3 separate regions of the Homo sapiens genome follow, and regions 1 and 2 are each linked to region 3. Evidence: promoter capture Hi-C in 16 types of primary human blood cells and fetal thymus (Javierre and others, 2016). All regions are on one chromosome and are shown on one strand. Each heading gives the region's core, a stretch centred on a gene start or on the middle of the fragment in contact. The rest is flanking DNA. Distances are from core to core; before and after follow the strand shown.

Region 1 (2,821 bases), core at 293-2,792, 890 kb after region 3:
TTGAAGTGCCATTATTCTGCTTACCAGACTAACCCAACCTCCCCAAAAGACTGAGCTCAGTTTTAGCTTCAAAACTGAAAAATCTCTAATGCTGTAGATACCTTTTTATACATTTGGAATTTGTTTAGGTTGTAGGTTGTAGAGATAGGGATGACCTGGATTTTCTTTGCTTAACTGTTGCGGGCTGTGGAGGCTACAGAAAGAGTAAAGAGAAAGTAGTGAAGATTCTAGCTGAGGTTGGAGAAACTGATCTTTCAGAGTCCCTTGGGCAAACCTTTACAGAAGGCAGCTTTAGTGTAATATGATTTGGTTAACTACGTAGTCCTAGGGATTTTTTTTTCCCGTGCTTTTTTTTTCCTTAACTTTCTTCTTGTCCGTGTCTTACTAGTTTTATGTCTACAAAGATAACACATTTGTAAGACTTTGTGAATTCTCTTAGCATTTTTAATAATTTATTTGAGTAACTTTGAACTCTTTGAAGGAGAGGCCATCAACCTCAAAACATAAATAAAGTCTATGTCTGTTTGAATTATTCTTTTCCTTTATTACTTGAGTTCCTTACTTGAATTCAATTAATTACTTGAATTCATTTTCCCAGTTTGCCACTTCTTACTAGTGTCTGAAATATGTTACATGAACATATTTTCCTAAATGAAAAGTCTTTCTAGTTACTCATTAATTCTGATCATTCAGTCAAGCATTCACTGAAACCCTAGCACATGCCAGGCACTCTGCTTGGCTCTGAGCAATAGTGGTAAACTTTGATACCATCCCTTCCCTCACACAGCTTATGGCCTCAGGGCTGTGTCACATAGTAACTACTTACATGGGTGATTTTAGTGTGTGTATGACTGATTGGGAATCTAACTACTGTAAATAAAAGAATCTGCAAAAATTTTCTTGCAGTTTTTTTCCAGTGTATGATTGGTTAATTGTCTAATGATTCTTTTGAAATACTTCGTAATAGTTTGTTGACATAAAATTGAAATATAACTGTGACTATTATATAACATTTAGCCTAATATTCCTTGCTTATTTGAAATAAAGTTTAGGTTGCTTTTTGAAGTGAATATTGAACAGGTGTCATTTCTTAAGCTTTTCCCAAATATTTAATTCGCAAAGTTACAGGTCTTGGTTTTTGCAAATAGTTTACAATAACTCTTGCTTATATACAATATTCCTTAAAATGTTTCTTATTAAGGAAGGCCTGACACTAATTTTCCTTTTTTGTTCTTTTAGGAATGTTTTAAAGGAAGTTGGGCTACTCACAAGTTACTACATAAGAAAGCAAGTAAGTACAATCACAAATTTTTACACCATTTGTCTTAGAAGTGGCATTTGTGCCAGAAAACAAGAATTCTTCTAGTTCTGAAAGTGTATATTTGAATGTTCTGAAAGTATAATCCTGAATACTAGAATTATGACATATTTTAAATTTTTGTGATATGTAAATAAAATATGTCTGGATAATATCTTAATCTTGTATTACATATTTAACATGAAAACATGAGATAGTTGTTAGTATAGATGGATCTTGCTTGAGCCATACCTGATGATGCTGTCATCTTTTGACACACTGTTATGTTGCTGGAAGTGTTTGCATATTGTAGTCAGGGATTATGTGAGTGATTTGGCTTCATTTAACCAGATTCCTTTTGGTTTCTTTTAGTTTCAATTTGTATTGCTTTTTCTACTCAAAACTATATTACTTTGTTTTTTGGTGTTTTAATGTTATTACCTGCAGTCTTATGTTTAATTTTCTTTTTTGAAGTTTTTTGTGTGACACTACAAAGTAAAACTATTAGCTGCTCCTTAGCTATTACTGTCAGCCACACTGATGTAGCTGAGATTCACATTGCCTTTTTTGCTCCAGCTAATTTATCCTGTAAATTCATGTCATTAGCGTGGCTGGTTTAAGACAACCTGTCACAGTTGCCTGAAAGTTGACAAGGGCTTTCTGTTCTATATAGCATTGCCATCCTGATGGATCAAAGCTTGATTTAATTTGAAGTGGGAAATAACATGGTTATTTATTTACATTGTTCTTGGTATAAGGTTTCTGTTTCTACATACCTGATCTTGGTGTCTTATATTCATCTACTTGTGTATTTTTTTTTTAGGAGTTAGCTGATTTAATGAAGTTTGAATGTAGTGTGTTTTTACCAAAACAAATCTAATTGAGGTCAGCCAAACCACCATTTGAAGGAACAGGGAAATACAAATTTTAAAAAGACAAATTTTCTGTAGTTGTATAAAGCGACATCTACATTTAATGGACATGCTAGGCTGTTGTGGGAGAAATGTGGTTAGAGATGAGGAAAAATGATGTGACTCAGTGTAAGTTTATCAACGCATAAAAGATAGGACTTGTTGATTTGTTACCTCTGTCAAAATTTAGAGATGGATTTAAATAATCTCACTTAACTATATTCATTCATGCATTACATACATCCTGTGTTTCTAATGTGTTAGGTATTTTGCAGAGCTCTTTGAGCCAGTTACTAGCATTTTATACCCAGGAAGTTAAAAGCATTGGTAAGTAATAAAGGGTTGAGGTTAAACAATATGTTAGTAAAAAAGCTTAAAATCGGCCTCTCCCTCAGATTTGCTAACTCATTGATGTGTGCCTGTTTCTTCAATACTGGATATTTAGGGGCAGGGCTATTTCCTTTTGACTTACACTACAAGGGAATAAACAGCAAGTGTTCCCTATGTAAAAAGAAGGTGATTATTACAACACTGGATTTAGGCTATTTGCATTTTTACTTACACCTCTAGTGTTTAGTATGGTGCCATCTTGTAGCTATTGCTCTGTTGGATC
Region 2 (2,767 bases), core at 253-2,752, 690 kb after region 3:
CAGGAGTTCAAGACCAGCCTGGCCAACGTGGTGAAACCTCATCTCTACTAAAAATACAAAAATTAGCTGGGCATGGTGGTGCCTGCCTGTAATCCCAGCTACTTGGAAGGCTGAGGCAGGAGAATCACTTGAACCTGGGAGGCAGAGGTTGCAGTGAGCTGCAGTCATGCCACTGCACTCCAGCCTGGGCAACAGAGTGAGACTCTGTCCAAAAAAATAATAATAATAATAAAAGAAACAAATGGGTTAATTATTAAAATTAATATTGCTAAAATAAGAAATAAATAAGCCTGTGAATATGATACCCCAAGAACACAATAGCATTCATATTGTTTTCCAGCCAAAAGTTCATACCTGAATCTGACTATGAGAAACCATCAGACAAACCCAAACTGAAAAAATTCTATAAAACAACTGACCTGCCTTCTCCAAAATGTCTTATGAAAGTCAAAGACATTCTTATGAAAGACAAAGAGAGACTGAGGAACGTCCTCTAAAGAGAGTGAAGAGTCATGATAACCAATGATCCGCGACTGATCCTGTCCCAAGAAAGAATGAAATTGCTACAGATGACATTATTGTGACAATTAATGAGATTGGAATATGGGCTGCAGATTAAATAATAGCATATAGCAATTTTAAATTTCCTGAGTTTGATTACTGTATTATTACAACATAAGAAATATTTTTGTCTGTAGGAAATACACATGGAAGAATTAACAGGTAAAGGGGCATGATAAAAGTAACATACTCTCCAATGGGTCAGAAAAAAATGTATCTATACTGAGAAAGAGATAATAAAATAAATATGGCAACATGTTAAAACTTGGTGAATCTGAGCAAGAGGAGTATGGGAGTTCTTTGTACTATTTTTGCAACTTTCTGGTAAGCTTGAATTTTTTAATAAGAAGGAAAAATAAAAAATTTAAAATAACAAATACTTGGGGGTAAAGTATTAAGAAGAATTATTCAAGATCTCTATGAAGAAAACTTTAAAACTCTACTAAGAGACACAAAAGGAGCCTTGAATAACTAAAAAGGCATCATAATGAAGAAATAGCTTCATTAAGATGTCAATTCTCCTTAACTAGGTGCATAAATTTTATACAATTTTGATTGACTTAAACAGCAAGAAATAGCACAAAGTCATTTAAAAAATACTACAGTAGATATTAAAATGTACTATAAAGCCAGTTGAATAATGTTATATGGTAAGGTAGACTGCTCAGTGGACTAATTACAAAGGCAGAAATGCATCCAAATACACATGCACATTTTTGACCCAGCAATTCTTTTTTTTCTTTTTATTTTATTCATTCATTCATTCATTCATTCATTCATTCATTCATTCATTTTTAGATACAGGGTCTTGCTGTGTCACCCAGGCTGGAATGCAGTGATGCAATCATGGCTCACTGCAGCCTTGAACTCCTGGGCTCAAGCAATCCACCCACCTCGGCCTCCCAAAGTGCTGGGATTACAGGCATGTGCCACTGTGCCCAGCCTGACCCAGTAATTCTAATTATTGTATTTTGTCAGGTAGGTAATATTTGCATGTATGGAAAATGACATCTGTACAAAGTCATTCATTACAGCACATTAGTAATACCAAAACATTGAAAATAGCCTTACTGTTCATTAATATGGGACTGATTAAATAATGATCTTCCCACACAAGGGAATTCCATGCATCCAGAAAGGAAAATGAGAATATACTCTATGTACTGATAACAAATGATCTCCTAGATGGAGAGCAAGATATTTAGTACACCATCACTTAATTTTTTAAAGGAAAGGAGGGGAAAATTACAAGTGTCTATATCTCTGTGTCTATATACATTGTGGTTGATAGAAAACAAAGAATGGCAATGGGAATTCAAAATATTACTTTTATTATTGATAAAGCTCATGTCAGAGAACACAACTCAGGTATGCGCCAACAGTAGATTCCCCAGTACTAAACCCAAGAACTAGGCAGTCTCATTCACTTGGGCTGGGCCCCCACAACCCTCCCCATGTGAGGGCCACTCTTGTCCATGCTTAAACATGATTGGAGAGCAAAAAGTCTGTTTGCTGGAGTCACCTTGCTCCAAAAAGGAAGGGCACGAAATAACTAAGCTTCGTGCACCAATTTTTCTGCCACCCTCATCAATCATATAACTCATTATTTTCTGAGGAGAGGAGAAAGGGATGGGGGCCGAGGCCAGGAGAGTTAGGGAAAAAACACTTTTCAGGTAAACCTTGTGGATGAACAAAAGAAGTCCTTCCCCAGCCCCTTCCCCAAGAGAATAGACAAGAAACTGGAAACTCTGAAGGCCTCTGGCAACAGGCACTAGATGACTGGGGGCGTGGACAGAAGGAGGCCATTTACTGGGTTGCCTTTTCCATTTTTGAAATTTTGAACCAGAGGACTCTATTTATATTGAAATATAAATAAAAATATTTCCAAATGATTATGTGCAGATAATTAAGAGCTGTAAGGAAAGAATAAAGGAAAAATATTGAATTCATGTATCATTTGCTTCATGATGAAATGAATGGAATTTTACCTAACTTGATATAATTGGAAAATGTTTCCAAAACACAGGTAACCTACCCAGAAAGTATAGTTGATCCAGCCATGTTTTTGCTCCTTCTGCATGAAATGTATTGTCTGCCCATCAAGAGACCACAGATGGGGGAGCCAGGTGCAATGGCTCATACCTGTAATCCCAACACTTTGGGAAGCCAAGGTGGGAGGATCACTTGAAGACAGGAGTTAGAAACC
Region 3 (2,700 bases), core at 76-2,575:
TACTGTGAAGCAGTACAATTCAACATGTGAAACACTGACAGAAGTCAAATTTGTACTCCACCCCAAGAAACCTAAACCTTCCCTTATCTGATCAGTTATGTAACAGAATAATGGATCCTGGCATTTGCTTGAAAATACATAGTGTAGGTATGGGGAAAATGTAGGTTAAGAAAAACTATCATTTGGACGGTATTAAGCTCCAGAAAATCACCAGAATAGAAAAAGTAGAAAGCAAAATTGATGTATTTATTTTTGACTAAGTCACTAACTGCAAACAAACGAGGAGAGCAAATATTATTTAAATTATCCATCCCCACTCCACTGGTCAAAAATATAATTTTTCTTTACAGAATGTGGAGAAAAGGGGCTCCCCTGAAGTGTGTTAAAAGAGATGAGGACGGTCAGAAAAATCTGTCTGAAAAAAAAACGGAACTATCTTTAAATAATACTGCAAAATAGAAATATAAGCTACATCTTAATAAATAAATGTCTCTGGTTAATGGGAGGAAAGATGTGAGGCAGGCAGGATTACAAAGCAACGAGACAGCGGGAGGTAAGGGCACAGGATTTGGAGACTCATATATTATGTCAACACAGCCAGGAAATCAAAATCCTAGACCTAAACTGCACAATCAAAAGTAGGATGTAGACAACTATTGCGGAATCAAAAGTCCTAGCCATATGCTCACCAGCCTTTTGAAATGGGACAAGTGATACTATCAGTCTCATCTGTAAAATAAAAGTATAGTGTTTTCCCTGCCTACTTCATGTTTTGTTATGTTTACAAAATGGTACTATTCCGCTCTATGTTTAACTCACAAGCACGCAGAAGCGGAGCAGGCTGAAGATAGGATGCCTGTCACAGGAGCTCTGCCTCTTCCTACATCTTACCTGTCGCCTGCTGCTTCAGGAAAGGTACCTGGTAGGATCCAGGACCCACATGGGCCTCAGTGCTGCCACCTTCAGCCAATTTGAGCAGGCGGGGAGCCCGATCATACATAGTGCTCGGGGTGGTGGGGGCGCTGGGGAAGGGCAGGTGCCGAAAACGATAAAAACAAGGTAGCTAGAAGTGTGGAGAAAAAGGAAGCCGACACCAGTCTGAGGAGGCCGGGAAAGAACTTCCGTAAACAGGGAAATTAGGGGTGGGGTTGTCTCCCCGCCCGCTCATTGATACCAGATTTCCTCAAATCGATTTCTAGCTCTGTGGTAAAGTAGAGGGGTGAGCGACTAGAGATTAGACGTCCCACACAATCATCAGTTTGCCAGGTGCACGCCACCAAAATTGGGTATTAGGGATTAGACGCTCGCCCCGGTGCTTCCGGCCCTGACTCCGCCCACTTCTCTCCGCCCGGAAGCCTGGGGAGGAGGCGGGCCCAGTCTCTGGGGAGGAGGCGGGCCCAGTCTCTAGGGAGCGAAGTGGAGGTGCCTTCCTGGGCCGAGCCCTCGGAGCATGCGCACCGAGCAGCCACCCTTTCCCGGCTCTTTTTACCCGGAACCCGGCGCGCCTTGAAGAAGGCAGGCCTAAACCTCGTAGCTCTTGGGGTCCCGGTAACTACTTAGGTCCCGAACTTTTTTAAGTATGCAGAAGAACCTTAGAAAACGCGTTAGGAAGGGTGAGGACTAACTTGACCTTGATCTGCTTCCCGACTCAACAGAACCTAGTAAAGAAAAATGCAGTAGCATGAAGCAGAGAGCTTGGGGTTCCGCAAGCTCTCCCCCGCTTCTACTGCAGCCCCACTCGTACTCACAGAGAAAAGGCACCTCTGATCTTAACCTGTAGATAGTCCAAACTGCTAAGACAAACCCAGGGCTCAGGGCAGTGACAAGAAATGGAGAACCCAGAAAAAAAAATAACAAATAAGATAAGGGTAAAAAAGAAAAAAAAAAAAAAAGAAATGAGGACACCAGGCAAGGAGGCGAAAAGCTCACCAACTGAAGCCGTGGAAGTGACTGAAAGCTGCCTCTTTTGTCGTATGCCAGGTAACCACAATACTGATTCATCAATATTTAAAAAGCAAAGCGAAGGCACTGAAAAAGCCCAGTCCACCCCACCAAACCAATGATTCTGAACCTTGGGCAAAAGAAACCTTGCTTGTCCTTGGGGCTTAAGGAATCTATGTCAGAATCCACCTCTGCATCTCGCAGGCTGTTTTTTCTAGCAAGAATTCTGTCCAGATTATAAATATCCTCAGAGGCTTAGACAAATCCTACCTTGATCATACCTCACCTCCAAATGGTCTACAGTACGTTAATTTGTTCCTACTACAAGTTTTTATAGTTTTCATACTCTGTAATACACGATTTGCCACTCAATCCTGTGCAACATTTACTGTGGCTTCATTGTGCCATATAGGTCGGAACCCTCTCCTTGCGAGGCTATATGCTTCTCAAGGATGTATCTGTAGTACCTTTTTTTCTGTTCAATAGCTAGCTAAATTATTTATGCACTTAAAAAACACGAATTGGCATATACTGTAGGTTCCATCCCTGCTAAGTTATGAGGATACAAAGGCATAAGAAAGTCCCTGCCCTCAGGTGTTCTCTCTCTAATGGGGAAAGAGACGTATAATCCAAAACGAGAGGTGGCAAAGATTTTTTTTAATGGTAGGAAAATGAATATTGCAATATTTTGGAAACATCTCACCAACTTCGATTCTCCCTGCATTCTGTCAGAAACCCTCATAATTCTCTCAATGTTGT

What was found. Contacts are between HindIII fragments. The CHiCAGO score rates a contact against its expected background, and 5 or more counts as called.
Region 1: a fragment that was not itself captured here is called in contact with the fragment with the promoter of STPG2 in region 3 in 4 of 17 cell types (total B cells, non-activated CD4 T cells, naive B cells and 1 more); the score reaches 8.6 in total B cells.
Region 2: a contact is called between a fragment that was not itself captured here and the fragment with the promoter of STPG2 in region 3, in 4 of 17 cell types (naive CD4 T cells, total B cells, total CD8 T cells and 1 more). The highest score is 7.5, in naive CD4 T cells.

Annotation. Positions count from the first base shown.
Region 1 is chr4:99,027,628-99,030,448 of GRCh38, forward strand. It overlaps METAP1 (methionyl aminopeptidase 1), which reads left to right. Exons shown (of 11, transcript NM_015143.3): 2 at 1,240-1,291. Among named protein-coding and RNA genes, the nearest start is that of MIR3684, 32 kb to the left of the region's middle. The HindIII fragment of the contact is 899 bases long and covers 1,094-1,992 here.
Region 2 is chr4:98,829,863-98,832,629 of GRCh38, forward strand. All of the region lies in intron 2 of LOC105377343 (a long non-coding RNA gene), which reads right to left. Among named protein-coding and RNA genes, the nearest start is that of EIF4E, 98 kb to the right of the region's middle. The HindIII fragment of the contact is 1,228 bases long and covers 889-2,116 here.
Region 3 is chr4:98,142,151-98,144,850 of GRCh38, forward strand. It overlaps STPG2 (sperm tail PG-rich repeat containing 2), which reads right to left and starts at 1,326. Exons shown (of 11, transcript NM_174952.3): 1 at 892-1,326. The coding sequence starts at 1,000. RefSeq lists an enhancer at 1,053-1,152. The HindIII fragment of the contact is 14,460 bases long and covers 1-2,700 here.